Regions from separate parts of the Homo sapiens genome. Here regions 2 and 3 are each linked to region 1. Evidence: promoter capture Hi-C in human tissues and cell types (Jung and others, 2019). All regions are on one chromosome and are shown on one strand. Each heading gives the region's core, a stretch centred on a gene start or on the middle of the fragment in contact. The rest is flanking DNA. Distances are from core to core; before and after follow the strand shown.

The links. The method cuts DNA at HindIII sites, captures the fragments that hold promoters and counts their contacts. A contact is called where the count stands out against the background at its distance.
Region 2: a contact is called between the fragment with the promoter of OR7D4 here and a fragment that was not itself captured in region 1, in 2 of the 25 tissues and cell types used here (dorsolateral prefrontal cortex and spleen).
Region 3: a contact is called between the fragment with the promoter of ZNF559 here and a fragment that was not itself captured in region 1, in 3 of the 25 tissues and cell types used here (H1 embryonic stem cells, dorsolateral prefrontal cortex and neural progenitor cells).

Annotation. Positions count from the first base shown.
Region 1 is chr19:9,455,392-9,459,079 of GRCh38, reverse strand. LOC105372269 (a long non-coding RNA gene) reads right to left here. Exons shown (of 3, transcript XR_007067133.1): 2 at 1-3,688. It also overlaps a transcript of ZNF560 not described here. Among named protein-coding and RNA genes, the nearest start is that of ZNF266, 22 kb to the right of the region's middle. The HindIII fragment of the contact is 4,913 bases long and covers 1-3,688 here.
Region 2 is chr19:9,217,558-9,221,245 of GRCh38, reverse strand. It overlaps OR7D4 (olfactory receptor family 7 subfamily D member 4), which reads left to right and starts at 1,657. Exons shown (of 2, transcript NM_001005191.3): 1 at 1,657-2,046. It also overlaps a transcript of OR7E24 not described here. The HindIII fragment of the contact is 21,358 bases long and covers 244-3,688 here.
Region 3 is chr19:9,322,577-9,326,264 of GRCh38, reverse strand. ZNF559 (zinc finger protein 559) reads right to left here and starts at 2,086. Exons shown (of 7, transcript NM_032497.3): 1 at 2,037-2,086; 2 at 1,485-1,570. It overlaps ZNF559-ZNF177 (ZNF559-ZNF177 readthrough), which reads right to left and starts at 2,086. Exons shown (of 13, transcript NM_001384659.1): 1 at 2,037-2,086; 2 at 1,485-1,570. RefSeq lists a silencer at 1,683-1,822 and an enhancer at 1,993-2,242. The HindIII fragment of the contact is 8,356 bases long and covers 1-3,688 here.

The sequences.
Region 1 (3,688 bases), core at 504-3,003:
GCTAGAGCTTGGCTAGTATAGCTTGGGGCATTATCTGTTTTAATAGAAGCTGGAATGCCCATCACCACAAAACACTGCAAAAGGTGATGTTTAACACAGGCAGAAGACTCTCCTGATTGGCATGTAGCCCAGACAAAGTGAGAAAAGGTGTCTACACATACATGTACATAAGCTAGTCTCCCAAACGAGGGAACATGTGTGACATCCATTTGCCAAAGAGAATTAGGTTCCAATCCTCAAGGAATCATTTGGCAAGTTGGGCATCGCTGGTTAATAGCTTTAGCTTCTTTCCAGGTAATGCTGTATCTGTGTCTGAGACCAGAGACATTAACGTGTGTTAAATTGTGGAATTGTCTAGCATTAGATATTGCAGTAGCAACTAGGTGATCAGCCATTTGATTCCCTACAGTCAAAGGTCCTGGAAGAGGTGTATGAGCCCTAATGTGAGTGATGTAAAAAGGGTGCATTCTACTCCTAACTGCTGTTTGCAATTGGGTAAATAAAGTCATCAGTTGCTCTTATGTGTGGAATTGTAGCTGAGCATTTTCAACTAACTGTGTAGAACCACATATGAAGAATCAGAAATCATATTAATAGGCATATTAAAAGCAGTCAATGCCTCAATTACAGCCTCAAGCTCCGCTTTTTGAGCTGAAGTATAGGGCGTCTGAAAAACTTTACCTTTCAATCCAGAATAAGAGGCTTTACCATTACTAGACCCATCTGCGAAGACATTCTCAGTACCTTCAATTGGTTTGATTTAGTCATTTTAGGGAGAATCCAATTAGTTAATTTCAAAAAATTGAAACAGTTTCATGTTAGGAAAATGGTTATTGAGAATACCCACAAAGTCAGCTAAATGGGTTTAACAAGTAAGACTATTTATAAAAGCTTGCTGTATTTGTGTCTTTGTGAGAGGGATAATAATTTTTCCAGGATCATATCCGTGTAATTTAACAATCCGAGTTCTCCCATTTCCTATCATAGTAGCAATTCGATCCAAATAAGGAGTCAAAGTCCGTGAATTAGTATATGGAAGGAAAAGCTACGCCACAAGATCTCGCTCTTGAACAATAACACCAGTAGGTGAATGCTGAGTTGGAAAAATGAGCAAATCTAGAGTATTCTCTAGATCTATTCTATTTATTTGGGCCTTATGGACTTGCTTTTCAATTAGCTGCAGCTCTGCCTCAGCTTCTTTTGTTAATTGCCAAGGGCTTGTGACACTAGGATCTCCTCTAAAGATAGAAAACAGAGTACTCATGGCATAAGTCAGAATGCCTAGAGCAGGCGGTATCCAATTAATATACCCTAGTAAATTTTGAAAGTCTGATTCAATGTTTTCTATTGATCCTACATATGGCTACTTTCTGTGGCATTATTGTGGTGACATTTACTAAGGCCCCCAAGTAGACGTAAGGAGTAGTAGTCTGAATTGCGTCAGGAGCTATAATTAAACTGGCATGAGAAATTGAATTCTCCAAGTGACCGTAACATTGGAGTAATATTTCCGGAGTGGGGGAAGCACAAAGAATATCATCCATATGATGAATAATGTAACACTGTGAAAATCTTTTATGAGTAGGTTCAATTGCTTGCCCTACATAAGTCTGGCAAATTGTTGGACTGTTTAACATGCCTTGTGCAACACTTTCCAATTAAAACGCTTAGCAGCCTGCAAGTTGTTTACCACAGGAATCGTAATTGCAAACTGTTCACAGTCCTGCTGAGCTAAGGGGATAGTAAAGAAACAAGTCTTTTAAATCTATGGCTATTAAAGGCCAATTTTTTGGAATCATAGCAGGAGAAGGCAGTCCTGGCTGTAATGCCCCAATAGGTTATATAGCTGAATTAATAGCCCTTAAGTCAGTTAACATTCTCCATTTACCTGGTTTTGTCTTAATTACGAAAACTGGGGAATTCCAAGGGGAGAGAGTTTGAGCTATATGTTCCTTTTGAAGCTGTTCTTTGACTAGTTCATTTAAAGCCTCCAGTTTCTCTTTACTCAGCGGCCACTGTTCTATCCATATTGGCCTGTCTGTCAGCCATTTTAACAGGATAGGCTCTGCAGGCTTACCATCAAAAATGGTATCCTAAGTCTTGGCGGGAACTTTGTCTTTCCGCTTGAAGAGATTCCTTCAAACCTTGCAAATTTTTTCCTAGTTCCATACCATGGACATACCCCATTTCATGCATCATATGTTGACTTTGAGGGCTGTATAATTGCTCAGGAATTAGAACTTGTGCTCCCCATTGTTGTAATAAATGTATGGGGGGAGAGCCCCCATAAATTTATAGGTATAGAAGTTATAATTGGTTGAATAGTCCCAGGTTGTCCATCGGGCCCTTTACAATGCAAAGTATAACTACTTTGATATACTTCAGGGGCTTTATCAACTCCAACTATGTTAAATTGAGCAGGCTGAATTGGCCATGCAGACGGCCAGTGATGTAGAGATATGATTGAAATGTCCACTCCTGTATCTACCAAACCTTTAAATTTCTTTCGCTGAATAGTTTTTTCACAGGTAGGATGGTTATCAGTAATTTGATTTACCCAGTAGGTGGCTCTCCCTTGTTTATTTGTACTGCCAAATCCCCTTGTTCTTTTAGTTTCACTTTTTCCTAGTCCCACATACGGTAAAATCAGAAGCTGCCCTATACGCTCTCCCGGTTCTGCCTTTTAAGGAACAGAGGTAGATATAACGATTTGAATTTCCCCGTTACAATCCAAATCAATTACTCCTGTATGAACCTGCACTCCTTTTAAATTTAAACTAGATCTTCCCAGAAGTAGTCCTACCATTCCTGCTGGCAGAGGTCCGCAGACTCCTGTTGGTACCTTCTGCAGTGGCTTTCCAGGCAGGAGACTCACAGCCCTGGTGCAACACAGATCTACTGAGGCACTACCAGCTGTGGCGGGGGACAAGCATTATACAGGGGTGAGGGAGTGGTCTGAGCCAGGAATGCCCTGGTTTGGAATGTGGCTCAGGATTGGCCCCTCATGGCGTTTCTCGAAATCGGGTTTCCGTCTTTATCAAATTTAGAATGACACTGATTGGCCCAGTGCTTTCCTTTTTTACACTTCAGGTATAGACCTGGTTCAGCAGTTTTCTTTTTTCCATCAATGGGTAGTTGGACCCTCTGATTTTTTCTACATTCTCTCTCGTATGCCCATGTTTCCTGCAGTTGAAACAAGCTTCAGGAAATGGAGCATTTCCTTTACCCACTCTCAGTCCTCCCATGGCTTGCATTAACAGAGTAGCTTTATGCAGATTACCTCCAATACTGTCACAGGCCTTGATATAATCAACTAAATGTGCTTTCCCTCTAACAGGTCACAGAGCAGCCTGGCACTTGGGATTAGCATTGTCAAAAGCTAATAACTGCAACACTATATCCTGAGCAGTTGAATCTGCAATCACCTTTTTAAGAGACTCCTGTAACCAAGCTATAAAATCTGCATAGGGTTCTTTTGGCCCCTGCTTAACAGCACTAAAATAAGGGTATTGTTCTCCACCTGAAGAGATTTTTTTCCCAAGCTCTAATGCACACTCCTCTAAGCTGATCTATAACATCATCCTGCATGACCACTTGTGCGTCTAATGCAGCCCAGCCACCAACTCTCAAAAGTTGGTCGGTAGTTACATTAATTGGAGGTTGAATTTGTGCACTGCAGGCAGCTTGA
Region 2 (3,688 bases), core at 408-2,907, 240 kb after region 1:
GGCTGGAGTGCAGTGGCGCGATCTCGGCTCACTGCAAGCTCCCCCTCCCGGGTTGAAGTCATTCTCCTGCCTCAGCCTCCCAAGTAGCTGGGACTACAGGCGCCCGCCACCACGCCCGGCTAATTTTTTGTATTTTTAGTAGGGACGGGGTTTCACCTTTAGCCAGGATGGTCTCGATCGCCTGACCCTGTGATCCGCCCGTCTAGGCCTCCCAAAGTGCTGGGATTACAGGCGTGAGCCACTGCGCCCGGCCCAACATACATTTTTAAAAGGTTTAACTTCACTAATCATCAGGGAAATGCAAATGAAAACCACAATGAGATATCACCTCACTTCATCTCAAATGGCTATTACTAAAAAGACAAAAGATAGTAAGTGCTGGCCAGGATATGAAGAAATGGAAACCCTTCTACACTGTTGGTAGGAATGTAAATTAGTACAACCATTATGGAAAAGAGTATGGAGGTTCCTCAAAAACTTAAAAATAGAACTACCATATGATCCAGCAGTCCACTACTGGGTATATATCAATAAGAAACGAAGTCAGTGTGTGGAAGGGATATCGCACTCCCATGTTTATTGGAGCATTATTCACAGTAGCCAAGACACAGAATCAACCTAGTTGTCTGCAAATAAATGAATGGATAAAGAAAATGTAGTATATATACACAATGGAATATGATTCATCCATAAAACACAAGGAAATCCTGTCATTTGCAACATGGATGAACTCAGAGAACATTGTGTTAAGTGAAATAAGGGAGGCACAGAAAGACAAATATCACATGATCTCACTCATATGTGGAATCTAACGAAGGTGATCTCAGAGAAATAGAATCCAGATTTCAAAGAAGTAGAATGTTGGTTACCAGACCCAGAGTGGTTTGGGGTTGAGGAGTAGTGTTGGTGTTGTGGAGATGTTAGTAAAAGAATACAAAATTACAGCTATATAAGAGAAGTAAGTTCAAGAGATCTATTGTACAGCAGGATGACTTTAGTTAATGATGATATATATGATATTCTTTGAAAATGCTAAGAGAGTGGATATTAAGTGTTCTCACCAGGATAACGACTCTGTGAGATAATGCGTATGTTAATTAGATACATTGAATGTCCACAATGTATATATATTTCCAAATATCAAGTTGTACATGATACATACATATAATTCTATAATTTAAAAAAATATATAAAAATAATTTGAAAAAATATTTAAAAAGAAAAGACATTTTTGTTTCCATGAATTTTCAACACCGAGGGATCCATAAAATCTCCAAAGACTCTTCAAGGGAGTCACATCGCTTGGAGATGATTCCTGAGTTTAGTTCCTTGCAGAAATTAATCTTTCCTTAGGGCAAAACTTGTGACTTTCAAATTAAACCGAAGAAAGAATTTCTTCTTGGGGGAAATAAATCCATCATGCCCTACCACTGCCTATTTCATCACAAAATTAACTGAAAAATTTCCATTCTATCATCTTCTTACTACTCAAAGGGAGCCAAACTCTTTGGAGAGTGGGAAGAAAATAGAACAATTTATTTAATAAGGTGCTCTGAGAATTCAACTCTTGAGACACTGGAAACTTAAAATGTGCCCCTGTTTAAACAACCTCACCTGTAATTCTCTGCTCCCAGCCTTTGGAAAAAACCCAGTACGGCTTCCTAGGAACAGATCGTGTAGAAGAGAAAACTTCAGTGATAACCATCAGAGTTAGTGTGACCCAGTGAGGGCTGGTGGGGTAAGAAGGAAAAGAGGAGAGAGAATAAGTACTAGCCTTCACAGTAATGAGCCTGGAAAGTCCCATACTTATTGAGTCTATGAAGGTGAAGTCCCTGTACTTTGATGGTACTTTAGTTTTCACAGAAACCAGTGTCTCCCACCTTCTGTTCTCACTCCTTGGAATCCAGGGCCCGTCTTTAATAAGTTATTTTCCGAACAGTCTCTAACTCTCCTGCACTCTTTCCTATAAACTTTAGTCTCCTGTTGAATTTCGTACATCCAGTTACTTATTCATTAACTACTCACGGAAGATCTACTATGCTCAAGGTATTGTCTATGTGTTCCTAATGTGATTGGATTTTTCTATTATATTCTATATTTTTCCTGGCAGATTATTGGTTACCAGACCCAGAGTGGTCTGGGGATTGGGGGTAGGGTTGATGTGGTGGAGATGGTGACTTATTTACAGCACTTACTAGCTGTTATGTTTTTGCTATTTCAACTTAGTATCCATGATATCATATAGAAATAATACAATTATTTCTGACATTCAACATGCAGTCCAATTTTTTTTCTCATATTAAAAATCCCTTGGCTGAACGTAGTGGCTCACATCTATAATCCCAGCACTTTGGGAGGCCGAGGCGGGCAGATCACTTGAGGCCAGGACCCTGAGACCAGCCTGGCTAACATGGCAAAACCCTGTCTCTACTAAACAATAACAAAAAAAGAAAGCCTGACACCTTAGCTTACACCTGCAATCCCAGTTACTCGGGAGACTGAGATGGGATAATTGCTTGAACCCAGGAGGCAGAGGTTGCAGTAAGCTGAGACTGCACCCCGCACTCCAGCCCAGGTGACAAAGTGACACCATGTCCCCCCCAAAAAAAAATCCATTTGCATGTTCACCAAAATATCAAAAGATTGAAATTGTAGTAGACGGCCTTTGGTGTATCCAGGAATTTAAACCCCTTACTGTTTTAACATAGCATATCTTGTTGCCTGTGGTATTAAAACAACCATTGTTTATCGGGTTAAGCAATTGTCCTTGGTTTCTTCCTTTATTGAGAGGATCTGCCCTGGTTGATAATCTTTTTCAAATGCATTTTTTCTATTGTGATTTTGTTTATGATTTCTCTTTACTGACCTGTTTTTGTGATGAATTATGCAGACATTCTTACATTAAACCTGCTTCCATTGTTAGAGCTGGTATTACTACTTCATTTATCATTATTTTAAAAGAGATATGAATATGTTATTTACTGTATTATTAAATTTATGTCTATATTCAAACATGTCTTAAACTTGAAGATTTCTATTTTGTGTTATAGTTGATGCTTTGGTCCCAGTCTTTATAGAACATTTCAATTTGTACTTGCTCAGAATCAGTAATGTGCTGGGCACCACGTAAATCCTTGTTAAATGATGAGACAAAACAATCGCAACCACTGTCTAAAACTAAATATAAGTTGACCAATGTGAAAGGGACAAGGAGGAAGAATATAGGATGTTCTATTTCTAGTCATCAAATACATATCCCGCTTTCATTCCCTGCTCCCCATCTCACTGGCATCTCAAATCCCTTCCTTTACAAGCTCAATGACCCATGGGACAATCTCGAATTCTCTTCTGTCAGCCTAGAAGATTTACCCTTTCCTTTCCTTACTTCCCCTAATTAACAATGATCCGGCCAGGTGCAGTAGCTCATGTCTGTAATCCCAGCATTTTGGGAGGCCGAGGTGGGCAGATCACTTGAGGTCAGTAGTTCGAGACCAGCCTGGCTAACAAGGTGAAACCCTGTCTCTACTAAAAATAAAAAAATTAGCTGAGCGTAGTGGCACACACCTGTAATCCCAGCTACTCAGGAGGCTGAGACAGGAGAATCGCTTGAACCTGGGAGGCAGAGGTTGCAGTGAACAGAGATAGCACCACTATACTCCAGCCTGGGCAACAGATCGAGATTCCATCT
Region 3 (3,688 bases), core at 837-3,336, 130 kb after region 1:
GGTGGCACACGCCTGTAATTCCAGCTACTTGGGAGGCTGAGTCAGGAGAATCGCTTGAACGCAGGAGGCAGAGGTTGCAGTGAGCTGAGATCACACCACTGCACTCCAGCCTGGGACAGACAGACTCCGTCTCAAAAAAAAAAAAAAAAAAAAAAAAAATCAGGTGAATAGTCTAGTTAAAAAACAGATTTAACAGATCTAAAAACATGCAAACAACCTGGCAACTATAATGGTGACTATGGTGACTTTTGGACAGCTGGGGAAATCTGATTTGATTTGGGGGTGGGGATGGACAATGAAGTCTTGTTTTAAGCTTGTCTTCACTTTCAGGAGGTATTTGAGATACACGCTTAAAAGGGGAAAGTTCATTCACTTCCAATTTAAATGGCTCATGATAAAGTACATATACAAAAAAATGAAACAAATCTTAACAACTAGTGAATGTAGTTAAGGGTTAAAGACTTTTTTTTTTTTTTTTGGAGACGGAGTCTCGCACTGTTGCCCAGGCTGGAATGCAAGGGTGCAATCTTGGCTCACTGCAACCTCTGCCTCCCAGGTTCAAGCGATTCTCCTGCCTCAGGCTCCTGAGTAGCTGGGATTACAGGTGCCCACGCCCGGCTAATTTTTTGTATTTTGAGTAAAGACGGGGTTTCACTATGTTGGCCAGGCTGGTCTCAAACTCCTGACCTCGTGATCCGCCAGCCTCAGCCTCCCAACATGCTGGGATTACAGGCGTGAGCCACCACACCTGGACTAAAGACATTTGTTTTACTCGAGCTACAGATGTTCTCTAGATCAGTATTTGTTTTTTTTTCTTCTTTTTGAAACAGGGTCTCACTCTGTTGCCTAAGCTGGAATGCAGTGACACAATAATGGCTCACAGCAGCCTCGACCTCCCATGCTCAAGTGATCCTCGCATCTCGGCCTCCAAAGTGGATGGGACCACAGACACCACCATGCCCAGCTAATTTTTTATTTTTAGTAGAGACAGAGGCTTGCCCTATTTTTTCCAGGTTGGCATCAAATTCCTGGGCTCAAGCGATCCTCCAGCCTCAGCCTCCCAAAACGCTGGGATTACAGGTGTGAGCCACCTTGCCCCGCCCTCAGTAAGACTTTCAAATGAGTAACTGGTAGAAAACCCACCTGTCAAAAGTTATCTTCGCATTCATTATCAATTCAATCCCTCCTGCTAGTAAATCAGCCCGCACCGTGTTCCTGGGGATGCCCTCGTTTTGAACCTCTGGGGGAATCTACAGGGCGCTAGAGTGAGATCTAGGTGATGGCCTGGAACCACAGTTGAGTAGTCCTGTGTTTTTCCTTGGTGGTAAATTTTACAGTTATGTGCATTCATCCACTCATGCATTCGATGGTATCAGATCCATGTGCTCTCGAACAACCACCTGAAAAGGTTTCTTTCCACCTCGACACAACTTAAACTTCAAGACCCGACACCCACAGCCAGAACAAGTGCATGAAGTGCTCACCGGGACACGACAGAATTGTCAGGTTGCTGAGGCCAGGAGGACACCAAGCGAAGGTCACCGTGAACAGGAAGGCAGAGATGCTGTTCCTTATAGAGAAAAGGCACAACGCTGGATGTGGAGACTTTTTTTTTTTTTTCCATTAGAGATGGTTGGGGGGGGGGGTCTCCCTATGTTGCCCTGCCTGGTCTTGAACTCCTGGCCTCAAGTAATCCTCCTACCCAATCCGCCCAAAGCGCTGGGAATGACAGGCGTGAGCCGCCGCGCCGGGCCCTATGAGGCTTCTGCAGAGGGGAGCAGGGAAAATGGAAAGGCCGTGCCCCCCGCCTCCTCCCGGGCCGAGGCCCCAGCGCAGCCGCCTCGACCCCTGAGGACAGACCTGACTGTGGCTCTCAGAGGAGGGGCCGCGACTTGGGAGAGCCCACAAGATGCTCGAAATGCCCGAAAGTGCACGGGACAGGCTCCATTTCACTGGGCACCTCCCCTTTCCACCCTTCTACTCTCGCGTGGCTGCACCGGGACACCACCGAACGCCGCCCAGAAACAAAAACTTACCTCAGACGCCAACGGGAACGCGCTGTTAAGATGGCGGCCGTTATGCGCATGCGCCCACGCAGACACGCCGCGCACGCGCAAAGGCTAGGACCACCTAGGGGGCGGGGCCTCGGGTTCCCGGGCCCATCAGCTGCTGCGGCTTTTTCCAACCCAGAGCTGAGAGGAAATGCTGTTTACCTCCCCGAAGAGCGCAAGTGTCACCGGTAGGGGGTCTTGACTGCAAGCTGTCCAGGTTACTGGCGTTTTGAACAAAGAATTAGACAAAACGCCCAGCAAAGCAAAGAAAGAATGAAGCAACAAAAGAACAAGAGCTGGGATTTGTTGAAAACGAAAGCATACTCCACAGTGTGGGAACTGGCCAAGCGGCAGCTCAAGGGCTCCGAAACAGAACCTTCATGAGTCCCAATACCTCCTAGAATTTTCCCATTGGCCACTTCATGCTCACCTCCTGTAAATGAAGCGGTAGCCCGCGTTCAGTCTGATTGGTTGCAGAAAGCAGCCAACCAGAGTCTGAAGTTACAAAGGTCACACTCCTGTGCAAACATCTGATTGGTTGCAAAAAGCAACCAATCAAAGGCTAGGGTGAAGTTACGACGTTACAAAGTTACACTTCTATGCAAATGAAGACTCAACCGGCCATCAGTCTGATTTGTTGCAGACAGCCAATTTCCTATCTGCCAGCAGAAAAGGTCAAAGGGAGTAGCCTCTGGTCCTTTTGTTATTTAGGCGAGGAAAGTGAGGGTTTTCCTTTCAATTTAGTTCTAGGAAGTCGGCCTGAAACAGCCTTAAGTTCCCTGCCTCCCGACTCTATTCAGCCTCACAAGGGCTTGATTTTTGGTCATCTCACACTCAGAGACTAGAATGCTCCTATTGGAATTTGTTCAAAAATTAGCACATAGAGGCTGGGCCTGATGGCTCACGCCAGTGATCCCAGCACTTTGGGAGGCTGAGGCAGGCAGACCACTTGAGCTCAGGAGTTCGAGACCAGCCTGGGCAATATGGCAAAACCCTATTCCTATAAAAAAGACAAAAAACACAAAAATTAGGACGTAGTTAAGAGCATAGATAAGATTCATGCGGACTTCCTAAAAGTGAAAACACCAAGATCTGGGGTCGGGGAATCTAAGGCCAATTCGTGATAATTTCCTAAAGTTAAATCAAAGGAAAAACACCTGGGGCTGGGGGCAGGGCACCTAAGGCCAATTAACACAAACTTCCTGAAGCTAAACCAAAAGGAAAAACCCCATCTCCCCAAGATCAAAGACTACTCTCTCTACAGTAAAAAGTAAAGTAGAGGTTCCTCTTCAAAGACTTTCCTGCCCATCTAATTAGGAATAAATAGTAACTTCTGTTAGAAGCAAAATTTATTCAAAGACCTGTACTAATGTGTCCGGAATTGGTGGGTTCTTGGTCTCACCGACTCCAAGAATGAAGCCGGGGACCCTCGTGGTGAGTGTTACAGATCTTAAGGTGGCACGTCTGGAGTTTGTTCCTTCTGATGTTCGGATGTGCTCGGAGTTTCTTCCTTCTGGTGGGTTCGTGGTCTTGCTGGCTCAGGAGTGAAGCTGCAGACCTTCGCGGTGAGTGTTAGAGCTCTTAAAGCGGCGCGTCTGGAGTTGTTCATTTCTCCCGGTGGGCTCGTGGTCTCGCTG